Linked DNA regions of Homo sapiens: regions 2, 3 and 4 are each linked to region 1. The links are contacts of gene promoters, found by promoter capture Hi-C in blood cells and fetal thymus (Javierre and others, 2016). All regions are on one chromosome and are shown on one strand. Each heading gives the region's core, a stretch centred on a gene start or on the middle of the fragment in contact. The rest is flanking DNA. Distances are from core to core; before and after follow the strand shown. Region 1 holds the start of CDK7 (cyclin dependent kinase 7). Region 2 overlaps TRAPPC13 (trafficking protein particle complex subunit 13). Region 3 overlaps SREK1 (splicing regulatory glutamic acid and lysine rich protein 1). Region 4 overlaps MRPS27 (mitochondrial ribosomal protein S27).

Region 1 (3,187 bases), core at 180-2,679:
TTGAAGGTTAAAAGAAACAATGTAGGTGAACGTGAGTTATGTAATTATGACCCAAATCTTTTTTTTTTTTTTTTTAAGATGGAGTCTCCCTCTGTCACCAGGCTGGAGCACAGTGGCACCATCTCGGCTCATTACAACCTCCACCTCCCAGGTTCAAGTGATTCTCCTGCCTCAGCCTCCCGAGTAGCTGGGATTACAGACAGGTGCCACCACACCCAGCTAATATTTGTATTTTTAGTAGAGACAGGGTTTCACCATGTTGGCCAGGATGGTCTGGATCTCTTGACCCCAAGTGATCCGCCCACCTCGGCCTCCCAAAGTGCTGGGATTACAGGCGTGAGCCACCGCGGCTGGCCCGACCCAAGTCTTTTGAATGAATATAAGAAGCTACTGAATCCGACCCAGGTCTTTTGAATGAATATAAGAAGCTACTGAACTCATTTTAGACCTCACATCAATGTTGTTCATGCTAGTGAAAGTCTTTCATGGTAAATCCGTACACAGAAAATACAGATACGACACACTGAGTGGATGCAGGTGAGGTATAAACAGTGACCTAGAAAGATCATGGTATCCAATAGTTCTGAGGACCGAAAAGATGGGCAGTACTTGCCCACAACATATGAATTTATGCAGTAAAAATAACATACAGCTTCTTCTTCATTTCAATAGAAATTAAAACGGGTTCAACCCTAGAGTTCCGTTTGGGAACACAAAGCACTAATTAATTATTTTGTCTCTGAAAATGACATGAGTAACTCATTATCAGAGTATGGTCAAGACTAATAAAATGGCTATCAGTCAATTAATAATACAGACATCTTCAAGGAGACTTAAAAACAACATAAAAAGGTAACTCACTTTCTTAATGGCGACAATTTGGTTGGTGTTCTTATCTCTGGCCTTGTAAACGGTGGCAAACTAGAAAGAAAAATAGAAATAACATAAGTTTATGGGAGTTTTTGTGTTTGCCTTTTTGCATTTTTACATTTCGCGAAGCAAAGAGCCCAGAGTTCCTGAGCAGACTCGCGGCGGCTGGAAACGTGGCGGGTCAGTCTCCGTCCAGCTCCAGGCTACTCTTCAGCAAGGAGAGGCCCCTCAGGGATTCACCCCCAGGATGTAAAGAATGGGCAGCAAGTGCGTCTGGACGGTTTCCCCCAACGAGAACGAGCAGCCAAGCCAGACCTCTGGCCTCCACGGGAAAACCCGCAAAGGTGGAGGCGGCGCGGGGCTGTCCGCTTGGGGCCCTCCCCGTCCTTCCAGAGAGCCTCACCTGTCCCTCCCCAAGGAAGTCCAGCTTCTCATAACGCTTTGCCCGAGACTTCACGTCCAGAGCCATCCGGCGCCGTAAAGCCCGACTCCAGCCGAAAAGGGCGAGCTCCCAGGACAACACGAATTTAAAGCTACCTTAAAGCCTCCAACACCCACTTCCGTCCACCGGGCTCCGTCGCTTTAGTATCCCCGCCTCACTTCCGTGGTGGGCGGAGGAAGCTGCGCTAGGCCCAGGCGGTTGGCGTTCCCCACCCGTCACGTGACGCCTGTCGGTGCCTGAAGTGGGGCATCTTCAATGGCTGCTGTGTCACTCTGTTGCCGTTTTAACTTGGGTGTTTTCTACATTACCAGGAACTGGTCAGCGTTCTAATTTGGTGTTCCATGTTCGGGGTTTGGTAGGTGTCTGTGAATGTAGAAAGTTTGGCCTTGTACCTGTTCTCGCTTTTTGGTTCTTGCTCGAGCGCGTCCTGTCGCCGTGGTTGCTATGGACGCCAAACCCTGCTATCTCAGATTACTGAGACGAGTGCCAAGTTCTTACGGGCTGGTCAAGAGTATTCTTAGTCCAGTCCCTTTATGAAGAAGCAGGCCCAGGAAAACAAAATCCAACTCAACTGAAACGTGCTGTGGGAATCAGCTTCTAGTCCTCAGTTTTCTACTCGGTAAAATGGAAAAAATAATGAACTACATCACAGGAGATTGTGGGTATTAAATGAAACATGCAGAAAGCTTAGACATTAACTCAATTAATTGAGACAGTGCTCAATTAACTTAGCAGTAATGAGTACCCAACCCCTTGATTATCATAAATTGTCATAACAAACACACTAATTCATTTATTCAAAAACATATTGAGTGCTTTTCCTTTTTCATTTTTCTCTCTCTTAGGATGCTGATATTGAGTGTTATCTATGTGCCAAGCACCATTGTAGAATCTGAGATAGCAGGGAGCAAAGATCCCTGCCTTCCAATGGGAGGAGATAAAAAAACAAGTCAAATATGTGTTATGATACATAGGTGATAAGTGCTATAGAGATAATAAAGCAGATAAAGGATAACAAATCAGGGCAGGGGCAGGGATGGAGGTTTTAAATAGGGTGGTACAAGAAAGTCATCACTGAAAACCCACTGGAGGGATTGGAGCAGACAAGTGATATGACCTGACTCACTTTTAAAAGGTTCACTCTTGCTGTTGGGAGACTATATTATAGATTTTGAGGGACAAGAAAAAGAAAGAAGGCCTATTAGAGAACTATTGCAGTAATCCAGATGGCTCTACTAGTGGATAATTAAAAGTTTCTGAGCCAGAGCAGCTGTCAACATGGAAATGTGCCCCCCTCCCCCTGCCTTTGTTTGTTTGTTTGTTTTTGAGACAGTCTCACTCTGTTGCTCAGGCTGGAGTACGCTGGCCCGATCTGAGCTCACTGCAACCTCTGCCTCCTGGGTTCAAGCGATTCTCCTGCCTCAGCTTCCCGATTAGCTGGGATTACTGGCCTGCTCCACCACACCCAGCTAATTTTTGTATTTTTAGTAGAGACGGGGTTTCACCTTGTTGGCCAGGCTGGTCTCAATCTCCTGACCTCAGGTGATCCACCCTCCTCGGCCTCCCAAAGTGCTGGTATTTGTAAGTGTAAGCCACTGCGCCCAGCCTATATTTGTTATTTCTAAGAGTTGAAAATCCTAAGTTTCAGAGATATGTTGAAGAAAGTAGCAAAATACCAAGGCCAATAATTTAGTTATTTTTTTTAACTCTGGAATCAGACTGCTTGCATTTGAATAGTGGCCCTATCAGTATTCAGCCACTAGATACAACTAGGGCAAATTACTTACTTTGTTTCCAGTTTCTTCATCCCTAATAGGATCTACTCAAAGGATTGTTCCAAGGCTTAAATGACCTCACACCTGCAAAGCCCTTAGA
Region 2 (3,187 bases), core at 491-2,990, 3.6 Mb after region 1:
CAAATGCATAGCTGGAAATCATTTTTCACCTCTCTAGGTACCCAGGATGTGTTACTTCACGATTTGGGTTATATGTGTGGGAGGGGCTTACATTATAGTTGCATCATGTCAGTCTCCTCTACTGGATGCAGGTCCCTTCAGAATTGGGAAGATGTTCTGTTTATATTTATCTTCGGTACCTGGCAGGTGACCAAATGTTTGAAACCTAGCTTCTAGTCTCACCAATCTGCCTGCAAGGCTTTTCTATCTTAGAAGACTATAACAAAGTTTCTCATGAACTTGTTTTCCTTTAGGTGATTCACATATTACAGCATTATTAGAAACAGTATCAAAATATATGTTTGAGACAGATGTGGGGCCAATAATATTAACTGTAAAAGGACTACAGCACAGAGCAATAAGCATCACTTACTGATATTACTGTGGTTTATTAACTCCTACAATCTACCTGAAATTCCTGGTTGGGGTCAACATAATCTGCCTCATGCTAGTGGCTGAACAGTATTTGTTTGTCTAATAGGTAATATTAAGTATCTTAGAGAGACCCAAAATGCTATTTGTTCACTCCTGATTTTTAAAGTGAGATCTATTTTCAAAAGTTCAGAATATTACTGAAATTATTTTGATTGAAGTTTGTTAGCAAGATTTAAAGATTATGTCAACATATAATGTTAACTGACAAAGGAAGCAAACAAAATTGTCGTGATTATAAAAATAGAATATTATATATAAGTGAATAAAGACTGCAAAAGAGTATGTATAATGAAAAATCAATTGGTGTGGTGGAATTGTGAATTTTTATTTCTTTATGGAGAGCATGTCACTTCTATAATGTTTATAGAAAAACTAGCAATTTTTAAAATTATTCACAAATCACTCTGAATATTAGCGTTATAAAACTAATTTACAGGTATCTTAGTGTACTACCATATTTTTAATGAAGAAAACCTAAAATAACTGAATATGTGACTCCTAGGAGCCAGTTACAGAAAATAACCCACCTATTGCCCTATTTTAAATTAATTTTCTAACAGAATAGTTAACATTTTCCCCTCATACTATAAATGAAATCTTTTCCAGCAAAAATTAGACTATTTAAATCTCACCATGCTGACTAGCTATACTGTAATTAATCAACAGTGTGGTATTAATAACAAAAAAGAGGGAATAAATGCGTATTACTCCAACTCACCTATCCCCCACAAAAGAAACATCAACTTTGTAAACATCTAGTAATCTTGATGATGCTTTTCCCTCTCGTCAAATAGGTATGCTCTTTCCTATGTACTTGATACTTCATGTCCATTTGTAACCCTGCTTGAATGCCTTCACTGCTTTGACACTTGTTTCCAACCTGCATTCCTTTCAGACTCCAATCCAGTTTTCCTTCTCTTCCATAAAGCTTCTTTAAACTATTCCAAGATCACATTCCCGAGAGCTCTTGCAGCACATCTTTTCGTATCATTCTCACTATATTCCATTCTAGGTAGTTTTGTTATTACATGCATTTTTTCTTTTCTCCTAATAGGTCTTTGCTGCAGGTTAGGTTCCTTAACTTTGACATCTTAGAAATCCTAGTTATAGTATAAATTTTACTGAGTAAAAATTCAGATTGTGGATGGTAAAAATAAATACCGAATTTGCCATGTGATTAAAAATGTCTGATCATTATCTGGTTTTAGAGTAGCAGAGATATAATCTTCATTTCAAAATACTGTATTTGGATATCTTTGAATTTATCACTGGTATGAAACACAAGATTTTGGGGCATAAGAGGGCTAGCAAGAGATCTGATTTTTCTGCAGCTCTAGAAGCCAAGATAAAACAGAATCTTAGAAAAGAAATCCAAGCAATAAATCCTTTCTCCTATGGCAAGTTCTTTTTTTTTTTTGGGCAAGTTCTATTTTATCTCTTTTTTTTTAGGGTAAAAGATAGAGTATCTTCTATTATAAGTTACTTCTCTTTTTGCCAAATTTGTTTTTCCCAAGGAGCTTTTAAAGCCATTACACCAAACTCAGCAACCTAATTCTGGCTGGCAAACTGACTACCCTGGAAATAATTTAATGTGCTAAGCTTCACTTGTCAGTATTTTTCCATGTGAATATTAAATCTATTTTGCAGCGTTAGATCTACTAATTCAATTTTTGTAAAATCCCGAACCACATGTAAATATTCAACAGATTGCTAGTGTAACAACCACCATTAAATGGAATGAGAGGGCAATCATTTAACGAAAGGAGATGAAAGCCTTATAAAATTAACGAGAATAAAAATCAAGACACATTGATTCCATGTAAGCTGAAAAAGATTATGAGACCTATAATAAAATTATTCAATTTTAACTGAAATTTGTGATTTTTTCAAATAATTTACAGTCACGTTGGCGATTTGCTTCAGTATTAGAAATGTATATAAGAGATTTTTAGTCAAATACGATCTTAATGTTTAATATGAAATCCCATTAAACACTCAACACTTACCTCTGCATTGTAAAATTTGGTTTTCACATCCAATGGTTTGAGAACCTGGTTAAATAAAGCATATCAATCAGGAGATTGTTATCATGTGACCATTTATTTATTTATTTAAATCAAATAGTGTAAGTTTGTCAGTCATTTTCCAATTTTAATTGTTAAAAGACTTTTCTAATAGGTATGCAATATTCTTCCAAAAAAAAAAAAAAAAAGAAAAGAAAAAAGAATCCCTAATGTATTTTTTGAGAGGCTACCATTATTTCTTGACTGGGTGATAATTACATTACATGGGTTTTTGCTCCATAATATTTTGTTAAACCAAACACATACATTTTATGTATTTTTCTATATCTATATTCACAAAAACTGTTTGCAAAAAAAAGCAACTGAGCTGGGTGCAGTGGCTCACTCCTGTAATCCCAGCACTTTTAGAGGCCAAGGCAGGCGGATCACCTGAGGTCAGGAGTCGAGACAAGCCTGGCCAACATGGCAAAACCCCGTCTGTACTAAAAATACAAAAATTAACTGGGCGTGGTGGCGGGTGCCTGTAATCCCAGCTACTCGGGAGGCTGAGGCAGGAGAATCGCTTGCACCCACAAGGCGGAGGCTGCAGTGAGCTGAGATCGCGTCATTGCACTCCAGCCTAGGCGACAAGAGTGAAACGCCATCTCAAAAAAAAAAAAAAAAAAAAAAAAAAAAAAAAAAAAAACTGA
Region 3 (3,187 bases), core at 180-2,679, 3.1 Mb after region 1:
GGTTACGATGTCCTCGCTAACTCCCATTTTGAATGCTAATTCCACTCTTCTTCAAGGCTCAAATTTCCAAGTCTTCTGGTAAACCATCTTAAGATACCGCAATCATTAGGTACAGCCTCCTACATGTGCTACCAAGACATTCTATATTGCTTTGGCACAGGCCTTAGCACGGTTTCCTCATGTGAAACCCTCAAAAGATCCTATAAGCTTCTCTAGCCATAAATGATTAGTCACCAGTCTCAAGGGCCCATTTCCCTGGCTGACCAGCAACCTCTAATTTTGGAAGTCAGGCTCGACCAAATGAGCTAGATCAATCAATCAGGTTCTCTCTATTGGGCTGGAAGGTGACTTACAGCAAGCTGTAAGCCAGATGATGAGTACATAATAGGTATGCAAAGAAATGGAGTAGATAGAAACAAACTGAACTGATAATAACCACTGCAGAGAAAGAAGCAGATAGTCATCTTGATTGCTGATACCCTTCTGGTTCCCAGTACTAGTTCCCATGAGGCCTGGCTGTACTACAATCTTTATTTTTCAACGCAGTGAAATCTTTCTTTTTAATAATAATGTCTCTTCTCGATGTACCTTGGGTAACACTGTTTCTGTCCTTTTTAACCAAAAACAATCTGTGATTATAATAACCTACTAAAGCCCTAGCAATTCCAACAGGAATAACTCTTTTGCCTCTGAAATCTTCAAGAGCCTGACAGTCATCTCTGAAGCAACATTTCCTAAACTGACGGATCCTTTTGTGAAGGAATGTAAATGTTAAGTAAGCACTACTGAAAACTAAAACCACATTTCCAAATACCCCTAGTTGAAATCTACTTCATTTCAAACTTAAAACATCCACAGGAATAGGAATTCTGAGTCTGGTTTGTAATGCAACTACATCTGAAGACATGCCACCAACATTTCAGAAGCCTGGGAACTGGTTAAAAAAATGTTGGTCTGTTCTGAACAGCATCATCATGGAAGTATGGATATTAGGTACGGCTACTCCACTGATTTAAGCAATTTTCTTTTCTTTTCTTTTCCTTTTTTTTTTGAGACAGAGTTTCACACTGTCACCCGAGCTGGAGTGCAATGGCGGGATCCCGGCTCACTGCAACCTCCGCCTCCCGGGTTCATGCGATTCTCCTGCCGCCTCCCAAGTAGCTGGGATAACAGGTGCACACCACCACACCCAGCTAATTTTTTGTATTTTTAGTAGAAACAAGATTTCACTATGTTGGCCAGACAGGTCTCGAACTCCTGACCTCGTGATCCGCCTGCCTCGGCTTCCCAAAGCGCTGGGATTACAGGCGTGGGCCACTGCACCCGGCCAATTTTCTTAATCTTCATTTCCAATTACCTTCCTTAAAATAAAGACCAACTTACATTTACTTTATAAAAATGCAAATATTTGAAAATTTCAGGCAAGGTAACACTATTTTATTTTGACCATTATAAACTAAAATTATTAGAGTAGCAAGCCAACAAACAGATAGCTCATCAAACAAATGTGTACTTGCTTGTGCCCAAGAGTTCAAGACCAGCCTGGGCAACAGAAGAAGACCTTGGGGGAAAAAAAAACACATAAAAAGGGATGACATATTCCATTTGGTCTAAATGTATGCATCTATAGAAACTAGCAGGCCAGGCACAGTGGCTCACATCTGTCACCCCAGCACTTTAGGATGCCAAAGCAGGCGGACTGCTTAAGCCCAGGAGTTTGAGTCCAGCCTGCGCAACATGGTGAAATCCTGTCTCTACTTAACTAAATAAATAAATAAAATTTTAGAAATAAATTTTAAGAAGAAAATAGCAGTACCCAAATTTAGCAGATTTTAGTTTGACCTCATTCGTTGACTTAAAGTTTTGGTTTTTTAAAATACAAAATCTTATCAATTTTTCAAAAAAAATTAAAACTTTTCAGTGGGTAGTACACGCAGAAACCAAAGAACCAACTTTTTGGGCATCAATTAAATTTCTTGGCCCTAACTGGTTATTTTGTCTTTTATTAAACATAATGATAGCACTATACAATATTTTTAAAACCAATGAGGTAATAATATGTCCAGTATTTTATCAGTACATTAATACACATCCTTTAGAGGACAGAGGACCTACCAAAAAAGATATGCCAAAACATGAGCGAAGCATACAGTATCATGTACAAAAATATTAGTTGGTGCATTATTTATAACAGGGTTTCTTCACTGGGCTTCAGTGGCCCTATGGATTAGCACAATTCATCCTGTTTAAGACTACTTATAAGTTGCTAACATTTACCCACTAAATGCCAACAGGCCCTCTAATCATTGTTGACAATCAAAAAGACACACCTCCCAATTTCTAGCTAAAATCCACTAATTTGTAATACCAAAAAAAGCAATCAAAATATCCAACAATAGAATTTCAAAAACACACAATACACTCAGAAATTACTAATCTCTAAATATTACTATAAATAAGACAGCAATATGGAAAATGCTTATGACAAAGTGAAAAAAGTAAAATAACAGTGTGATTCCTTTGATTACGCTATATTACATATATTACATAATGATAGCACTATACAATTATTTTTAAAACCAATGAGGTAATATGTCCAATATTTATTAACGCATGTGAAAAGGACTACAGGGAAATGGAGAGAAGCTTTGATAGAGTGGTGGGATCACAAGTGCTGTTTCCTTTTCTCTATTTTCTATAAAGTGGCTTTAGTGGTTACATTTTTTTTAACTAAATAAACTTAAGTAGTTGACAGATTTTTCCATTCTTTCTTAGAACTTTAGAAGACCAGAGAAGTGACGGAAATCAACAAGCAAAAAAAATCAACACAGGAAAAATGTCTAGTGTTACAAATCAGGGTAGGCTTACCCTTCAGGTTTTAGTTACTTGAAGGGGGTCACGGGGAACTTACAGGGTGCAGATAATCCTGACTGTGTGCTGGTTATATAGGTATGTTTACTTTGTAAAGATTCATCAACCTGCGCTTACGACCTGTGCACTTCTCTGTAGGTACATTAAACCTCAATGAAAAATTTACTGAAAAAACAACAAGGATTTCTTACTTGTGTAAGAAAGTTTCACAAGCTGTGAGATTGATTTATTGTGCAAAAAGTTAATAGTAATTCTACATATTTATCAACTGGCAGCACAAAAAAAGGATGACAAACTACAAATAAGAATTCTTAAT
Region 4 (3,187 bases), core at 1-2,500, 3.1 Mb before region 1:
TGATGAATTACCACAAAGCGAGTAAACCTGTGTAGGAAGCAAGAGCATTCCTACCGCTCCAGAAGCCCTTATTGCGGCCCCCACTTAGTCTCTCCAAAGGTAACCGGTATCCTGACTTCTAACGCCACAGATTTTTTTTTTTTAGTGTTTTAACATTTGAAGGTGTAGACACCTTGGTATAAGGAGCCCCCTTTACCCATCACCTGGCTTCAACAATTATCAGCTCTTAGTCTTTATTTTATCTTTATTACTGTTTCCCCATCCCGATGCTTTGGATAATTTTGAAGGAGATCCCAGGCAGTAAGTCATTTCATCCGTAAATATTTTGATACAGATCTCCAAAAGACAAGGGTGCTTTTCAATACCATTATCACACCTAAAATATTAATAGGGTTGTAAATATCACGAAATATCCAGTTAGTGTTCAGATATCCCTGATACTCTCTTTCTTATTTTATTTTATTTTCTTAGAGCCTTGCTCTTGTCGCCCAGGTTGGAGTGCAATGGCACGATCTCAGCTCGCTTAAACCTCCTCCTCCCAGGTTCAAGCGATTCTCCTGCCTCAGCCTCCCGAGAAGCTGGGATTACAGGCGCCCGCCACCATGCCCGGCTAATTTTTGTATTTTTAGCAGAGATGGGGTCTTGCCTTTTTGGTCATGCTGGTCTCGAACTCGTGACCTCGTGATCCGCCCACCTCGGCCTCCCCAAGTGCTGGGATTACAGGCGTGAGCCACCGCTCCTGGCTCAGGTATCCCTGATACTCTCAAATTTTTTTTTTTATGATTTGGTTGAATCAGGATTCAAATAAAGCCTCGTATAATACAATTGGTTGCTATGTGCCCCCGTTAACTCTTTCTGAATCTTTTTAATAGAAACATACAGAAGTAGAGAGAGTAGAATAAACCCCTGTGTACTGTCACCCAGCTCCAGCAATTATCAATTCCCTACCAGTGTTGTTTCATCAACTCCCCACCTGTTCACCAGATTACTTTTTAACAAACTTAATTATCGGGGTTTTTTTATATGTACTTTGATATGTACCTCTAAAAGATAAGGATTTTTAAAAACGTAATTAATCATACTATTCTAAAAAACTAGTACTTCTGTAATATTAAATATTCCATTAATGTTCACATTTTCCCAAATGTCTTATAAATTTCTTTTTAATTTAGTTTGTTGAAATGTGATCTAGATAAGGTCCATACCTTGCAATGTGTTGAGTTGTCTCAACTATCTTAGTTTGTAAGTTTTTTGCAATTTATTTATTGAACAAAACAGGTCTTTTTTGGAGTTTCCCACATTCTAGATTTGCTGATTTCATCCTTATTGTGGTGTTTAGCGTGCTCCTCTGCCTTCCATATGTCTTGTGAAACTGGTAGTTGGAGAAAGGGGCTTGATCAGATTCAGGACTTTTTATTTTGTCTTTTGGTATAAATACTTCATAGTAAGTGTTTACTTGTGTCAGTAAGCACACAGCATTTGATTGCCCCTCTGCGAAGTTAAAGGCCATTCATGATCTTTACTTAGATTTGTTATTTCATTTGAAGCTGCATACTATTGCTGTTTAAATTTTATCATTTCTTTTCATTTATTATCTAGGAAATTTTTATGACAGAACTTCCATTCATCAACAGTTTACTTACCCTGAAATAGTTTGTATATGAGTTAGCTTTCAAAATAACTTGCAAAAATGATGAATGAGGACTTCTTAAAATGTCATTAAGAACTCATAGATTTAAATAATTGAGACATTTTAATCCATTGCTGTTGATACTTTTATTGATAGGGCCATAGTTCAACTGTGCTCTGTAGAGCCCTGGGCTTTCCTACTTCAATCAGATTTCAACTTTTGATTGTTTCTGTACTGGGCTTCCCTTTGGCTAAAATAAACACTGAGTTAAAGCATTGTCTCTGGAATTCCTCCACTAACTTGCTGATTTGTTGGGGAGGTACAGGGTAAAAGTTATCAACATTTACTAGTTAACAGAATAGGATCCACTGTGAACAGGACTCAGGAGAAAACCACTGGGGAACTGGGTAGGGTGTTGGTAGGAGGGCAGGCCTCATGGGGAAGCTCCTTGAGTTCCATGAGAGGAAGTTTTCTTGAGTCTTTCTGACAAGGAGCGAGCACTCAGGTGACTTGAGCTGAATTCAGGATTCATGAGCCCTACTGGATTAAATATTTTATTTGTGATTTTTCACATCACAAAGTATAGGACACATTTTGGTTTGGGTTACTGTTTTGCTTGTTTGTGTTGGTTTCTCTTGGTTTGTTGGTTTGTTTTCTGTTGGTTTGTTTTTGGAGAACCTCCTTTTTGAATCCAAAGAGTATTTCCTTGACACATTTGCATTCAGGTCTGTCTCTTACAGACACTTCTTCCATTTTAGCTGAGATTTAGTTTTGCTGTGTCATTTCAGCTGTAGAGGCCTTTGGCTTTTTGCATGAATATTTCAGATCCTGCTCTTGAGGCCTGATGGAGATTTTCTGAAGTCTGCTTTCTTAACTTTTGTCAGTTCTGTATTTGCATCTCTGTGGCATCTATTCATTTTCCAGTTTCCATATTTGCCAAGTTCTAGAGATGGGTCTGACTTGTGCACATCACCGTTCTTTAGTCTCATTAATATATATGTACACAAAGCTTGATTTCATGTTTTTCCTTTATTGGATTTATTTATGTTAAAGCTTCTGGTGACAGACAAATAGAAGGAAGTCTAAAAATCTATGTCCAAATTGGTTGCTAGGCTAGTTTTCCATACTTCCTTCTGTATATTCAATGCATGATATATGTCATGTGTCCTCGTTTTTCTTTTAAAATGTGGGAAACAAAAACAGTTTCAGCCTGTATTTTTCAAGATCAGTTCTTCTAGGAAGGACAATAATAATCTGTACCTGTTTCTTTATTATATAAATTAGGTAAGGTATGCAGATGACCATAAGCCCAGAAAGAGTTTAGTGTTGCCTGAAAGGTTAACAGTAATGTGCAGTTATGTAGAAAAGAAAAACTGAAACCATTTCTCACCTGAAGCTAGAAGGATTCAATAAAGGATTCATATTTTTCTTCAGTGACCTTCATTATCACAACTTTGCCCCAGAGACCACACTCTTTTTTAAGAGGCTTGTTTTTCAACACATCTGTACTACAGATTTTGTGGTTATGTACTGTGAAGCTGTGTTACTTTGGTGTGC

The links. Contacts are between HindIII fragments. The CHiCAGO score rates a contact against its expected background, and 5 or more counts as called.
Region 2: a fragment that was not itself captured here is called in contact with the fragment with the promoter of CDK7 in region 1 in 1 of 17 cell types (non-activated CD4 T cells); the score reaches 7.0 in non-activated CD4 T cells.
Region 3: a fragment that was not itself captured here is called in contact with the fragment with the promoter of CDK7 in region 1 in 2 of 17 cell types (non-activated CD4 T cells and neutrophils); the score reaches 6.3 in non-activated CD4 T cells.
Region 4: a fragment that was not itself captured here is called in contact with the fragment with the promoter of CDK7 in region 1 in 1 of 17 cell types (activated CD4 T cells); the score reaches 5.7 in activated CD4 T cells.

Annotation. Positions count from the first base shown.
Region 1 is chr5:69,233,128-69,236,314 of GRCh38, reverse strand. It overlaps CDK7 (cyclin dependent kinase 7), which reads right to left and starts at 1,429. Exons shown (of 12, transcript NM_001799.4): 1 at 1,274-1,429; 2 at 862-921. The coding sequence starts at 1,339. RefSeq lists an enhancer at 1,179-1,707. The HindIII fragment of the contact is 18,686 bases long and covers 1-2,000 here.
Region 2 is chr5:65,651,839-65,655,025 of GRCh38, reverse strand. It overlaps TRAPPC13 (trafficking protein particle complex subunit 13), which reads right to left. Exons shown (of 13, transcript NM_024941.4): 7 at 2,481-2,525. Among named protein-coding and RNA genes, the nearest start is that of TRAPPC13, 28 kb to the right of the region's middle. The HindIII fragment of the contact is 671 bases long and covers 1,405-2,075 here.
Region 3 is chr5:66,147,214-66,150,400 of GRCh38, reverse strand. The region is part of intron 1 of SREK1 (splicing regulatory glutamic acid and lysine rich protein 1); the gene reads right to left. Among named protein-coding and RNA genes, the nearest start is that of SREK1, 4.5 kb to the right of the region's middle. The HindIII fragment of the contact is 2,439 bases long and covers 210-2,648 here.
Region 4 is chr5:72,304,630-72,307,816 of GRCh38, reverse strand. All of the region lies in intron 2 of MRPS27 (mitochondrial ribosomal protein S27), which reads left to right. Among named protein-coding and RNA genes, the nearest start is that of MRPS27, 14 kb to the left of the region's middle. The HindIII fragment of the contact is 2,782 bases long and covers 1-2,641 here.